3 separate regions of the Homo sapiens genome follow, and regions 1 and 2 are each linked to region 3. Evidence: promoter capture Hi-C in human tissues and cell types (Jung and others, 2019). All regions are on one chromosome and are shown on one strand. The core of a region is centred on a gene start or on the middle of the fragment in contact, and the rest is flanking DNA. Distances in the headings are between cores, read along the strand shown. Region 1 overlaps UNC13B (unc-13 homolog B). Region 2 has its middle 16 kb from the start of RUSC2. Region 3 holds the start of CCL21 (C-C motif chemokine ligand 21).

Evidence for each region. Contacts are between HindIII fragments. The study calls those that stand out against the background at their distance.
Region 1: a fragment that was not itself captured here is called in contact with the fragment with the promoter of CCL21 in region 3 in 1 of the 25 tissues and cell types used here (thymus).
Region 2: a fragment that was not itself captured here is called in contact with the fragment with the promoter of CCL21 in region 3 in 2 of the 25 tissues and cell types used here (dorsolateral prefrontal cortex and lymphoblastoid cells).

What each region holds. Positions count from the first base shown.
Region 1 is chr9:35,347,242-35,351,692 of GRCh38, reverse strand. The region is part of intron 11 of UNC13B (unc-13 homolog B); the gene reads right to left. Among named protein-coding and RNA genes, the nearest start is that of RUSC2, 140 kb to the left of the region's middle. The HindIII fragment of the contact is 3,146 bases long and covers 1,117-4,262 here.
Region 2 is chr9:35,471,480-35,476,528 of GRCh38, reverse strand. It overlaps the pseudogene ATP8B5P. Among named protein-coding and RNA genes, the nearest start is that of RUSC2, 16 kb to the left of the region's middle. The HindIII fragment of the contact is 4,317 bases long and covers 1-3,992 here.
Region 3 is chr9:34,708,549-34,713,389 of GRCh38, reverse strand. It overlaps CCL21 (C-C motif chemokine ligand 21), which reads left to right and starts at 3,254. Exons shown (of 4, transcript NM_002989.4): 1 at 3,254-3,390; 2 at 3,493-3,613; 3 at 3,708-3,890; 4 at 3,963-4,385. The coding sequence starts at 3,324. The coding sequence ends at 3,996. It also overlaps a transcript of PHF24 not described here. The HindIII fragment of the contact is 9,492 bases long and covers 1-4,841 here.

The DNA.
Region 1 (4,451 bases), core at 1,440-3,939, 640 kb before region 3:
AGCAAGGGGGCAGGGAGTTGTCCTCTGGTAAGGATCCAGCAGGGCCAGAGGATTTGCTCTTGGTGCCACACATGGTCTCTGCCTTAGCCTTATCTGGGGAAAGCCTGGAGGAGGGTCCCAAGGTAACCATGATTTCTTCCTCTGACTCTTGCAACAATCGCTTCATTTTCTCCCTCAGGGTTTGAGGGGTTCTCTGCTTCTTCCTCTTATTTCTGGTCAGGATGCTTAATAGAGATTACCTTGGAAGGCAACAGCCTGTCCTGCTCTTTTCAGTTTGTTTCTAGCAATTATTGCTGGCTGATGCTTTGGGCTTAGCCCACAGTGCTGCCTGGAATGGCCCCATGTGTGGCCTCCAAACCTCGCACATGCCCCTGGATCCTGGCTTGATTTATCCTGTAGCTAGTGAAAAAGGAAAATAGTGCACTCAGGTCAGAAAGTAGCAGGATGATTTTAGTTTGAATCAAGTTGTCAAGCAGGAATAAAAACATTATCTCCTAAGATTATAGGAATCAACCCTGACCTGCCTCCCAACCCCAGTCTTAAAGGCTATGGGCAGTCAGTTGTTTCTCATTAGCTTCCCCTTAGAGTATCAATGTAAAATTAAAATAAAGTCCTTGTGTTCTGGGCAAGTACCCAAAGTCAACGATATTGAGACAAGCTGCTGGGAGGTAGATGAAGTAAGGTCAATGAGTAAGTCCTTATTTGAACTTTCACAAAATTCAGTACTAGGAGTCTGGCTCAGAAATAAACAAACAAATGCTTAACCACCAAGGCTCAAATCACATACACAGTGAAAGACAAGACATGGAATGTTTCTTTCTTTCTTTCTTTTCCAGTTTGTTGTTCTGGTGAAGACTCCACTTACTCAAAAGTTTACCCCTGCCTGTGCTTATAGCACAAAGTATTTTCCCTTTGTTGAGTGATGGCAACCGTTCACTTGGAGAAAGGACAATGGTTTACGTATTTTAAACTTAGCAGGAAAAATATTTCTTTACCTAATTCTAGAATAAAGTGGCACAGTACGCACACACTGTCCAGACGTAGGTGGCATTTAGCATGAGAGAGGCAGGTAGAGAGGCAGGTAGCCAAAGAGACAGGTATCATGAACTCACAACTGGGGATGAAGGAGGTTTAGGCTTAGCTTGGTGCTCCTGAGCTCCACTTAATACTCTCTAAGGGCTTGCTGCAGCTAGTCAATATCTGGGTTTGGCTTTCCTGGCCCACAGAGGATCTTTCAGAGCACCACAATAAGTGATTGTCCAGCACACTGTCCACTGCTCAAGTATTAATAACAAAGGGTTGCTCTAATCCTCTGCCTGGCCCAGAGAGAATATCACATGGGACATGTGGGGGAGGGTTACCTCACAGAGGGCTCCAGGGTGCTTTACTCTTCTCCAATAAGGTAAAGACAGACTTGCCACCAGTCTAGTCCCTACACCCTAAGCTATTGGTGACTGCATTACAGAGGCAGAGACGATGATTACCTCATGTGGAGTGAGAATACATTCCCTTTTTACTGAGAATGTGGAGAGTGTACGGAAGCAGTAGAGTGGAAAGTACAAGGAGGAAAGCAGAGATCTAGGAGGCACATGGGACAACTAATATTCCAGTCCTGCTAGGTCTCCTGGGAGGGGTAAGATGGATTGGTGGGAGACATGCTACTCTTCATGTTCTTTGACCAGGGATGCTTTCCCCATTTTCTAGATTTGATGGAGATTTCTAAATCTTCTAAACTCTGCCTCCTTTTATTTTCCCAGTACTCAAGTTAATCCTAAAAGTGGGAAAATGCCTTAAAGAACACAGGCAGACTGCTCTCATGGCAACCCATTTTCAGGAAAGGCCACCACCTACATCTAGTCTGTGGGCCTGGAATTTAAAAGCATTGTGCTTCCCCAGACTAGGAGGAACCAGAAGGACGAGTCAGAGGACTTGGGATAAAGATGAAGCTGATTCTTTTTACTAGAAATAACTAGGCCAAGAACCAAGAGACAGAAACTGCATGTATTCCCATTTCACATCTCTCCTTTTCTTTCCAGCTTATCTAACAACTCTAATTCATTGAGGAATTCTTCATCTAAGAACCCTATCCATCCTGTGAGGCATTACTGCTTCACCTCAAGGTCTCATGGGGCCAGGAACAGCCATGCCCCTAATCTGGCCAACTCAGTCTAGCCTGCGAGGATGCACTACCTGCACAACCAGAATTTCTGGGTCTTGGGCTTGGTGCCCAGCTGCCTAGGTAGACCACGCTCCAAAGTCTAGAGGATGCCAAATTCTTCCTTCTCTCTTCCCACAAGGACAAAATCTGAATTTCCAAAGATACTCCTTTTTTTTTTTTTTTTTTTCCTCCCCAACCATGTAGGGATTGGGTATCCCTGATTTGCTCTTGGTATTAGCCATGAACAATGTTCCTGGCTTTACAAGGGCTGCAGCTGGCAAGTGGCCTTTCAAATTTGTCTTTAAAAAAGAAGTACTGCGGCTGGGCGTGGTGGCTCTCGCCTGTAATCCCAGCACTTTGGGAGGCCGAGGCAGGCAGATCACAAGGTCAGGAGTTTGAGACCAGCCTGGCCAATATGGTGAAACCCCCTCTCTATTAAAAATATAAAAATTAGCTGGGAGTGATGGCAGGTGCCTGTAATCCCAGCTACTCGGGAGGCTGAGGCAAGAGAATCACTTGAACCCAGGAGGCAGAGGTTGCGGTGAGCCAAGATCGCACCACTGCACTCCAGCCTGGGCAATAGAGCAAGACTGTCTCAAAAAAAAAAATTAGAATTGCTTAGTAAGCTTAGTAAACTAAGATGGAAGCTCTGTGTACAACTACATGAAGCCATGAGCAAGTGCTACTGGACTGGCATCAAGAGACTTAAGTTTGGGTCTTGTTCCACCAGTGACCTTGGATTAAACACTTGACCTCTATGTGAATTAGTTTCCTCATCTGTAAAGTGGGGGAGATAATTACAGGAATGTTATTATATAAAGCTAAAATGAGAGAACTGTACTTACTAAACTGTAAAGCACTGTCCTGTTGTTATTGCTACTGATGTGGCAAGTCCCTGAGTCAACAAAGTAGGGAAACCCATATCTAAAGCAAGCATCCAACCACCTAACTGGCACAATTTGAGTGAGCCATGACTTCTACTTCTGCCCCAGACTCCTGCCTTTCCCACTCCCTTCTAATGGTCTGCAGCAGTGCCTGGAATCCTACGAGGAGACTGTCACCCTTAAAGTTAGTCCTGCTTTCTCCTAGAAGTTTTCTTTTTAAGGTAAGGAGAAGGAGGAGTAAATCATTCAGTTCCCAACACCTCATTCAAGTGTCAGGAGGCCGGCCGTCTCTCAGACAGCCTGAACGCTGAGGAAGAGATAAATGGCTATAGAAGCCAAGCTTTATTTTTCCAATGCTGGTGAGGCCCAGAATTCATTGCCAGGTCTTCTAAGGCCAGCCTCACTTTGGTCCAGATAAGGCAGTTTGTCGGGAACACTAATGAAGCTGACTCCCCTGCTACTGCTACTGATTCAGTGTAGACCAGGCTAACCTGGGGCCTATCTGCTTCTGCCCCTCAGATCAATACTGCAGACATAAGTTTTTGTTTTGTTTTGTTTTGTTTTTGTTTTTGTTTTAGTAGAGATGGGGTTTCTCCATGTTGGTCAGGCTGGTCTCAAACTCCCGACCTCAGGTGATCCGCCCATCTCGCCTCCCAAAGTGCTAGGATTACAGGTGTGAGCCACCGTGCCCAGCCCTCCAGACATACTTGGCCTCATTTCCCGGACACCTTACAAGGTATTCCCTTCCAAACTACAGTGCTTACGACACTGGCTGGCCAGCCACACAGGGGGCAAATGGCATAGCCACTGGGTTCAGAGTCCTTTCCTGTGGCCTCCTGAAGACTGAAGGCAGAGCTGCCTGGTTCCCCATGTTACTGACAAATAGGAAATTTTCAACTAGAGCTGCCATAGCAGCTTCTCCCAGCCTCAAACAAAGATGCTTCCTTCCATATTAAACAAACAAAAGCCTCCACACCTTCTTATGAGTTGGTAGCCACTGCCCTGGGATGAACTTTGAACTCAAGAATCTCTTCTGGTGATATAGGAAGGGCACCAAACTCACTTAGTAATCCAGTCTTTGGGCTTTGAAGCAGGGGATGGAGCTCGATGTGATGCTCAGAGGACCAACCAGTCACTGTGCTGAGCTCAGTAGAATATCAGAAGCCAGAATGGGCTGAAAGGGCAACCCTCAGGGACAGGAGGCCCAATTCACCTCCTTCCCAGCCTCTCTTTGCTACTACTGTCCACAGAAGTGAAATGACAGGGAGCAAACTGTAAGAAGGACCATTTGATCTCCAAGTCAGTTGAACTGCATGAGTACTTACTGTGTGTGCCAGGGAGATAAGATGCAGTACCTGCTCTCTAATACATTAAGATTTGGAGAGAAAGATATATATAGATGATCACAA
Region 2 (5,049 bases), core at 585-3,084, 760 kb before region 3:
GTAAAGGCGGGTTAAAATATATGTACAGAGGAGGATATTTAGCTGATAGTTTGGATTTTTCTCAGTAAAATAGAAGGCAGTATCATTTGCTACGTACTGGGGAGCCAGGAGAGTGTGGTAGAAGGTCTGAGAATGGTGATTGTTTAGAAAAGCTGATACGGAGAATAAAATATGAAGCCAATTACAAAATGGTGAAAAATTTGCCAAGTGGCACTGGGACAGAGGACAGTGGAGTCTCTGAATTTGTAATGGTTTTATGATCTCCAAAATAGTGCTTAACACTCTCAAATTAGAAACAGAGCAGGGTCGATGGTTTGGTTAATTCAAGGTTGAGATTTGTTCAGTGATTAAAGAGAAGAAAAGGAGAACTAGTAAGGTACTGAGGATGCTTATGATCCCAGGGTACAGACAGGCAAGCTAGGAAAGGAAGTAAAGTCATAAGGAATTGATAGACTGGAGAAAAAAGAAAGCCAAGGGTTTATAAATCTCCATGAGATAAAAAAGCAGGAATACTTTTAAAAATCTCAAGTACGAGCCATGTACTGAGAATATGGAGGAATAAGGTTTGTGATCAAAGATTGTGAAAAGAAAGTTTATAATTCCACATTAGTACAACTCTGGACAATTACATGGTAACATGGAAATGGGTGATACAGATTTTTTTTTTTTTTTGTCCAAGAGATCATCTGAAGGATTCTTTCAGAGACCTGAAAGAGTCTACAGTGATAGGTCGTCCATAAGGATGACAATACCACCCAAAACAATAGCAGTGGTTGGGAGGGGAGGGAGAAGTTTCAAAGCCCTCAATGAATGGGGTGTAGAAGCCAGAAGCTTCCTAGATATCAACAACAAGAAGAGTTACAGATGAGTATAGCCAGAAGTCATAAGCATCACAGGAAGAAAGATTGTGTAGGAGAGAAAAACTAATGGTTAAACATGGCACAGGATAATGAGGGCAACACCTTTGGGCTTATGGTATCCAGAGTTTATGGTATGCAGAGTATGAGAGAGATGGAAGAAAAAGGAATGTTCTCAGGGAAAATCATGTTTCAATTAATGAAGGGATTGAGGCTATAGGTAAGTTTGTTTATAAGAGAACAAAAATTCCAGTGATTTAGTGAAAAATGTGTTACGGTCAATCAGTAGTGGACAGAAGGAGAGGAAAGAAACTCCAGGAGGGATTTACTCCCTAGAAGCTATAATTTTGCCTATATTGCCAAGGTCATTAGCCAAGCCCCTGGAAGATGATTTAAGGCAAATCACTGAATTTCCTTCCCCTTCCCAATCTCTTTGGATGGACAGGGGTAAGGCAACAGTTGAGAACTGGAGTCAGATGTTTGGTACATAAGTCAAGTGGCTCAGTTTGGAATTGGGTCTAGCAAGACAGAGATAAGGTGAGGAATACCCTGAAGGCAGCAGAAGAACCCCTGTGAAGGGACACTTAAAAACAAATCCATAAACAAAAGCTGGGTCCAATACTAGAGAAAACAGTAAAAACCAACTAGAGATAAGAAGAATGAATAGGAAGATATTTTTATAATTTTATAAAGCCTGTTGAATATGTCACAAATCCTTAAGTTACAAAGGAAAATGACTGATAGATTTGATTACATGAATTAAACACTTCTACACAAAATATTATTTAACAAATTAAAAACCAAAAGACAAAATGGGAAAAATAATTATAACATATGCACCAGAAAAAGGAAGAGCTAGTATTTTTACTGTATAAAGAGCATTTTCAAATAAGAAAAAAAGGCCAAAGAATATGAATAGACAGTTCACAAAGTAAGTGTAAATGGGCAATAAAGAGATGATAAGGGGAAGAAAAATAAGCACATAAAAATGATTCAACCTAATTAGTCATCAAAAAAGGTAAATTAAATAATTAGATACCATTTTTCATCAATTAAATTTCAACAGATTAAAAATTGTTAATACCAGTTCTGACAAGCATATGGGGGAAAACAAAATGTCATATATTTTTGGTGGGATTATAAAGTTATGCGAATCTACCTGGAGGGCAATGTGGCACTATTTAATGTATTAAAACGTGGCTACCTTTTGACCAATGAATTTTACTTCTAGGACTTTATTCTAAAGAAATAATTATCAGAAAAGTAGACAAAATGTATGTTCCATAATGATTACCAAAATGTCATTTGTAATCGCAAAGGAAAATGGAATAAAAATAAGAAATTAAATAAATTAAGGTACAGTGATACAACTGAATAGTGGACACCCATTCAAAATGATGATGTAGACCTAGACCTACCGACATGGAAAGATGACGACAATAATAGTGTCAAGTGAACAAAAGGAAACTGGAAATAGCATGCATACTATGATTTTATCTCCCCCATCTTCTAGATCTAGATGTACATATGTGTGTGTGTATACACATATGAAAAGCATAGGATATACTCCCCAACTTTACACTGGCTATCTAAATGGGATGGAATAATTTTAACTTTCTTCACACATTTCTGTATTATTTAATTTTTTTTTTTACAGTGAGCATGGATTATTTTTTAAAGAGAAAAAGCCAATAAAGCTATTTTTGTTTAAAAAGAACAAACGAAGATCTTCAGAATTAAACATAGGTCATTTATATAATGCTTTCTGATATTACAGGACCAGTAAAAGCTTTAATATTTCAGTGGCTAAGGGAGTCTCGATTTGTATTAAGGATGCTTCTCTGAAGCACAGCCTCACTCAGCTCCCACATGCATTTCCCATGGAGCTGTAATCACTCACCTCAGAGACCGTCACCCTCTGTCCATCCTTGTCATAAGTATCACCTGTTGGTAAGTGAACACAGCAGAGACTTGGCAAGGGTTTTAAAGGAGGGTTTGAATTTCTTTAAATTGTTGTTAAAAAAATATACATATATATCACATAAAACTTGCCATTTTAACTATTTTAAATGTAAAATGCAATGACATTAATTATATTCACAATGTTGTGCAACAATCACCACTATATATTTCCAACATTTTTTCAGCACCCCAAACAGAAACTTCCCATTTTTTCCCATCACCAGCCCCTAGTAACCTCTAGTCTATTTTTTGTCTCTATGAATTTGCCTATTCTAGATAGTTCACATAAGTAGAATCATAAAATTTTTGTCTTTTTGTGTTTAGCTTACATCACTTAGCATAATGCTTTCAAGGTTCATCCATGTTGTAGCATGTATCAAATTTCATTACTTTTTATGGATGATTCACATTCCATTGTATGTATATGCTATACCACAGTTTCTTTATCCATTCATCTGTGGATGGACATGTGGGTTATTTCTATCTCTGGACTTATGCGAATAATGTCACAATGAACGTTGGTATACATGTATCCGAGTTCTTGTTTTCAAGTTTTGGGGGTATATACCTAGGAATCAAATTGCTGGGTCATATGGTGATTTAAAGGAGGGGCCTTAAAAGCTTATTTATTCTGATTCCTTCATCCTAGACTTGCAGTCAAGATGCCTGCCCCCCAGTCTCCTCAGGCCACCTAGCTCCCAGTTCCCAGTAAGCTCCTTTCCCTAAGCCAATGGTAAGAAGAGGTTTGCTTGGGCCTCAACTCTTCTCCCCTAAGTGAGAATAAGATGAAGCTAGAAGTTAGTCACTGGATCTGTGATAGACTTCACACCTCAGGAAGCCCTCCAATCATAAGAGTTACCCAGAAGAGATGTGGACACAGTTTTAGAATGTTTGGGATTCTTGACCAGTGGATGACAGACTGAATAGGGGTAGAAGACATGTCTGATGCCAAGCATGGAAACACTCATGGTCCTTTTCAACTTTACCCAGTATATGGTCAGGTCAGAGAATTAAGAGGCTCACCCAAATCAGCTCATCCAAAAATAAGCCTTCAGAGTTTATATAAGTGAAAATTTGTTTGACATGGTTACCAAACAAATAATAGGAAATATAGGAAATAATAGGAAATATTAGAGTGCTCTAGTCTTTTTTTTTTTTTTTTTTAGACAGGAGTTTCACTCTTGTCACCCAGGCTGGAGTGCAGTGGCATGATCTTGGCTCACTGCAACTTCCACCTCCCGGGTTTAAGAAATTCTCCCACCTCAGCCTCCCAAGTAGCTGGGATTACAGGCATGTGCCACCATGCCTGGCTAATATTTTTGTATTTTTTGTTGAGATGGGGTTTCACCATGTTGGCCAGGCTCGTCTCGAGCTTCTGACCTCAGGTGATCCGCCTGCCTCAGACTCCCAAAGTATTGAAATTACAGGCGTGAGCCAACGCACCCGGCCTAGCTTTTTTTAATTAAAAAATTTCAATTACTTATTGATATGAAATTTACTTAGTTAACATATAATTATCCATTTTAATGTGTACAATTTAGAGGCATTTAGTGCATTTACAATGTGCAACTACCACCTCTCTCAAGTTTCTAAACTTTTTCGTCACCCCAGAAAGATTATTCCATGTGTTCTAGTTTTTTAGATGTGATTACCTTCCTCTGTTAGCTAGGACACTGGGTATGACTGTTCACACACATGAGGACTTAACTCTATCACAAAAACAAGCTTATGCTTAAGGCATAAGATAAATAAGGGATTGGGCCTGGGAGACACTGATCAAACTCTGACTACCCTTTGATGGTTTCTCTCAATAATATTTATTGCTGTAAAGGGGAATCAAGAAATTAGCAGCTTCAGTAATACATTGACTGCTCCATTTAATTTATTTTTAATTTTATTATTAATTGACAAATACTAATTGTATATATTTATGGATACAATGTGATGTTTTCATATATGTATACACCATGGAATGATTATATCAAGCTAACTAACATATTTATCACCTTGCATACTTATTTTTTTGTAGTGAGAACATTTAAAACTCTTTTAGTAATTTTGAAATATGCAATACATTATTATTAACTAGGATCAACATGCTGTGCAATGGATCTTGAAGACTTATTCCTCCTGCCTAACTGAAACTTTGTACCCTTTGACCAACATCCATCTGATTTAAAGTGGGAGTGAACTGAGTACATAGACATTGGGGACTCCTTGAGGACAGAGA
Region 3 (4,841 bases), core at 2,005-4,504:
TGGTCACTGAGTGGGCAGGGGGAACCCTGTCCTCCAAAAATGAGGGGTTTTGCATTTGGGTTTGTCTTCTGGTTCCCTAAGGGACAGGCTTGCTTTGTTTCAGCCCTCTTGGGCTTCAGGATCTTCCTGAGCCACATATATCAGAAGATTTAAAGGGACAGAATCTTTTTGCGGGGAAGGAAGAGAACCCTTTGTCAGGTCATAAACAGAAATTTCAGTAACCCCACAAAACAAAGAATACACACTTTGCAAAAAACCGTTTGAAAAAGTCACCACAAATTGATGGCAGAGTTCTCAACAAGTGTATATCAGCAATCCCTAAGGAGTGAAAAAATTGAATTTCTAGAGATACCACACTGTAATATTCAGAATGCCCAGTTATCAACAAAAAATTACTAATACAAAGAAATAGGAAAGTATGGCCCATTCACAGGAAGAAAGGAATTTGACAGAGACTATCCCTGAGGAAGCCCAGATATTGGACATAGTAGATGAAGACTTTAACTGTCTTACTGTAAATGCTCAATAAATATTGATGATGGGAGGTTTGATGATAAGGGTGAGAAGCTGAAATCTCAAATACTGCTTTGTTGCTTGTTTTATTATGACCTCAAATTAAATTGGGAAACAATGGCCCTTTTGGAAAAAAAAAATAACTGTCTTAAATATGCTCAAAGAGCTGAAGGAAACCATGGGCAAAGAGTTAAGGGAAATCTGAAAAATGGTGTATGAACAAAATGAAACTATCAATAAAGAGATGGAAATTAGTAAAAAGAAAAAAAGGACTCAAGCAGAAATTCTGGAAGCAAAAATACAATAACTGAAATGTACAATTCACTAGGGGCAATCAACAACTAATTTAAGCAGAAAAAAAAGGATCAGTATTCTTGATGATAAGACAATTAAAATTATCAAGTATGAGAAGAAAAATAAACGAGCCTCAGGGATACCATCAAATGTACCTCATCACAGGAGTCTCAGGAGGAGAAGAGAGGGAACAGGGCATTAAAAAAATTGAAGAAATAATGACAAAACATCTGAAATCTGATGAAAAGCATGAATATACATACCCAAGAAGTTCACAAACTCTAAGAAGGATAAACTCAGAGATCCACACCAAGACAAATTATAGTCAAATTGTTGAAACCCAAAGATTTTAAAAGCAGCAAGAGAGAAGTAACTCATTATGTACAAGAGATTCTCAATAAGATTACCAGCTGATTTCAGAAACCATGGGAGGCCAAAAGACAATGGGGGATATATTTAAAGACTGAAGAAAAAAAAAAGTCAAACAAGAATTCTATATATCCAGCAAAACTATGCTGCAAGAATTAAGGAGAAATAAGACATTTCCAGATAAACAAAACTTAGGAAGTTCATTAATAGTAGACCTGCCCACAAGAAAAGCTAACGGGAGAAAGAAAAAACAAACAAACAAACAAACAAATGCTAAAGGAAGACCTTCAGAATGAAACAAAAGGACAAAAAATAATAACTCACAGCCACACAAAGAAACAAAGATCTCTGATAAACATAACAACATAGCAGGCTGGGCGCAGTGGCTCATGTCTGTAATCCCAGCACTTTGGGAGGCCAAGGTGAGCGGATCATTTGAGGTCAGGAGTTTGAGACCAACCAGGCCAACATGGTGAAACCCCATCTCTACAAAAAATAGAAAAATTAGCTGGATGTGGTGACAGGTGCCCATAATCCCAGTTACTCGGGAGGCTGAGGCAGGAGAATGGCTTGAACCCGGAGGGTGGAGGTTGCAGTGAGCCAAGATCACGCCACTGCACTCCAGCCTGGGCGAAAGAGTGAGACTCTGTCTCAAAAAAAAAAAAAAAAAAGTAACAACATTGCCAGGTATGCTGGTTCACACTTGTAATCCCATTACTTTGGGAGGCCAAGGCGGGTGAATTGCTTGAGGTCAGGCGTTCGAGACTAGCCTGGGCAACATAGTGAGACCTCGTGTCTACAAAAAATACAAAAATTAGCCAGGCATGGTGGCCCCACTACTCAGGAGACTGAGGTGGAAGGATCACTTGAGCCCAGGAGGTCGAGGCTGCTGTGAGCTGAGATTGTGCCACCGCACTCCAGCCTGGGTGACAAAGCGAGACCCTGTGTCAAAAAAAAAAAAAAAGATAAAAGCTAGTATTGTATTTTTAGTTTGTAGCCCCACTTTTTTCTATATAATTTAAAAGGAAAATGCATTAAACAATAATTATAAATCTATGTCAATGGGAACACAATGTATAAAGATGTAATCTGTGACAATAACAATATAAAGAAGGGACTAAAATGTATACGAGCAAAATGTTTATATACCATTGAAACTAAGTTGGTATTATTCAAACTAGGTTGTTATCAGTTTAGAATGTTAATTATAATCACCAAGGTATCCATTAGGAAAATAACTACAAAATATATAGAAAAGGAAAGCAAAGGGGAATCAAAATGGTTATGCTACAGACCAGGTGCAGTCGCTCATACCTATAATTCCAGCACTTTGGGTGGCCAAGGCAGGAGGATCGCTTGAGCCCAGGAGTTCAAGACCAGACTGGGCAACATAGCAAGACCTCATCTCTAGAAAAAATAAAAATGAAAAATGAAAACAGTAGCCGGACGTAGTGGCATGTGCCTGTGGTCCCAGCTCCTCAAGAGGCTGAGGCAGGCAGATCATTTGAGCCCAGGAGCTCAAGACTAGCCTGGGCTAGACATCGTGAAACCTCGTCTCTACAAAAAAAAAATAGAAAAATCAGCCAGGCGCAGTGGTGCTTGCCTGTAGTCCCAGCTCCTGGGGAGGTTGAGGTAGGAGGATCACTCGAGCCCAGGAGGCGGAGATTTCAGTGAGCCAAGATCAACCACTGCACTCCAGCCTGGGTGACAGAGTTAGACCCTGTCTCAAAAAAAAAAAAAAAAAAAAGAACTCTTACAATTTAATAATCAGATTTGCTGGAAGGAGGGGAAGGGTATGGATCCTGGAGCGTAGTGAGGAGACAGTCATGGTGTTCCAGGGGAGAGGCAGTGAGGCCTGCATGAAAGCAGTAGCTGGGAATAGAAGGAAGGCTCAGGCCCAGACATATTCAACTAATGAGGACATAAAATTTGGCAGCTGAGGACTGTCCACTTAGTTTGAGATAAGTGGGGCTGGGTGCCAGCAAATCCAGCTTTCAGGAAGGAAAAGGAGTGGGGATAAGTTAAGGGAAGTGAAAGTGTCTAGCTACATAAATAGCAGGCCAATCCCAGCCCACGCACAGACCCCCAACTTGCAGCTGCCCACCTCACCCTCAGCTCTGGCCTCTTACTCACCCTCTACCACAGACATGGCTCAGTCACTGGCTCTGAGCCTCCTTATCCTGGTTCTGGCCTTTGGCATCCCCAGGACCCAAGGTACCAAGGCAGGGAGGGGCCTTGCATGGGGCTAAGGGGATCAAGAGGCCTGGATAGGAGCTTGCCAGCAGCCCCTGGCTCCCTGTGAATCCCACCCTGCAGGCAGTGATGGAGGGGCTCAGGACTGTTGCCTCAAGTACAGCCAAAGGAAGATTCCCGCCAAGGTTGTCCGCAGCTACCGGAAGCAGGAACCAAGCTTAGGCTGCTCCATCCCAGCTATCCTGTGAGTGGACACAAAGGGGTGGGTACTGGCTGGTGACGGGGTGGGGAGGGCATGGTGGGCAAGACTAAGAAGGCTTACTAGCCCCCACCCGCAGGTTCTTGCCCCGCAAGCGCTCTCAGGCAGAGCTATGTGCAGACCCAAAGGAGCTCTGGGTGCAGCAGCTGATGCAGCATCTGGACAAGACACCATCCCCACAGAAACCAGCCCAGGGCTGCAGGAAGGACAGGGGGGCCTCCAAGACTGGCAAGAAAGGAAAGGGCTCCAAAGGCTGCAAGAGGTGAGGAATCTGAGGGATGTGGGTAAAGGGGAGCCTCAGTCAGCCCCTCACACCCCTCTTCTGCCCTCACAGGACTGAGCGGTCACAGACCCCTAAAGGGCCATAGCCCAGTGAGCAGCCTGGAGCCCTGGAGACCCCACCAGCCTCACCAGCGCTTGAAGCCTGAACCCAAGATGCAAGAAGGAGGCTATGCTCAGGGGCCCTGGAGCAGCCACCCCATGCTGGCCTTGCCACACTCTTTCTCCTGCTTTAACCACCCCATCTGCATTCCCAGCTCTACCCTGCATGGCTGAGCTGCCCACAGCAGGCCAGGTCCAGAGAGACCGAGGAGGGAGAGTCTCCCAGGGAGCATGAGAGGAGGCAGCAGGACTGTCCCCTTGAAGGAGAATCATCAGGACCCTGGACCTGATACGGCTCCCCAGTACACCCCACCTCTTCCTTGTAAATATGATTTATACCTAACTGAATAAAAAGCTGTTCTGTCTTCCCACCCAAGTACCTGTTCCCATGTGTTTATGTCCACCGAGATGCCAAGGTTCCTACAGGGTGGGGTCACACACTCTGAGCCGAAAGCTCAGGCTGAAAAATGCTATGTTCTCATCTACCCCAAGAGTTTCCTTGCCTCTCAGGTGCCTGCACCCCTGAGCAGTTAAAGGGAGGCTGAAGGACAGGGTAGGACCCAGTCTTCTGAGGCATCCTGCCAATGGAGAGGTGGTGGACATGGAGCACACACCCCCAACAGCTCTGCAGACCTCTGAGACCCTGATTCTGTCCTGCACTAACTCCAGGGGTGACCTTCGGATCTTTTCCATGACCTTCAGACCTTTCCCCAGATATCCCAGAGGCTTCCTCTCTTTTCCCTGGGAACTATTCAATGAGACCCTCCAAGTGGTTCTTTGGAAGGGTCCCTAGGAGGGAAGCTGTGGCTTGGGCCCATCTATAACACAGACA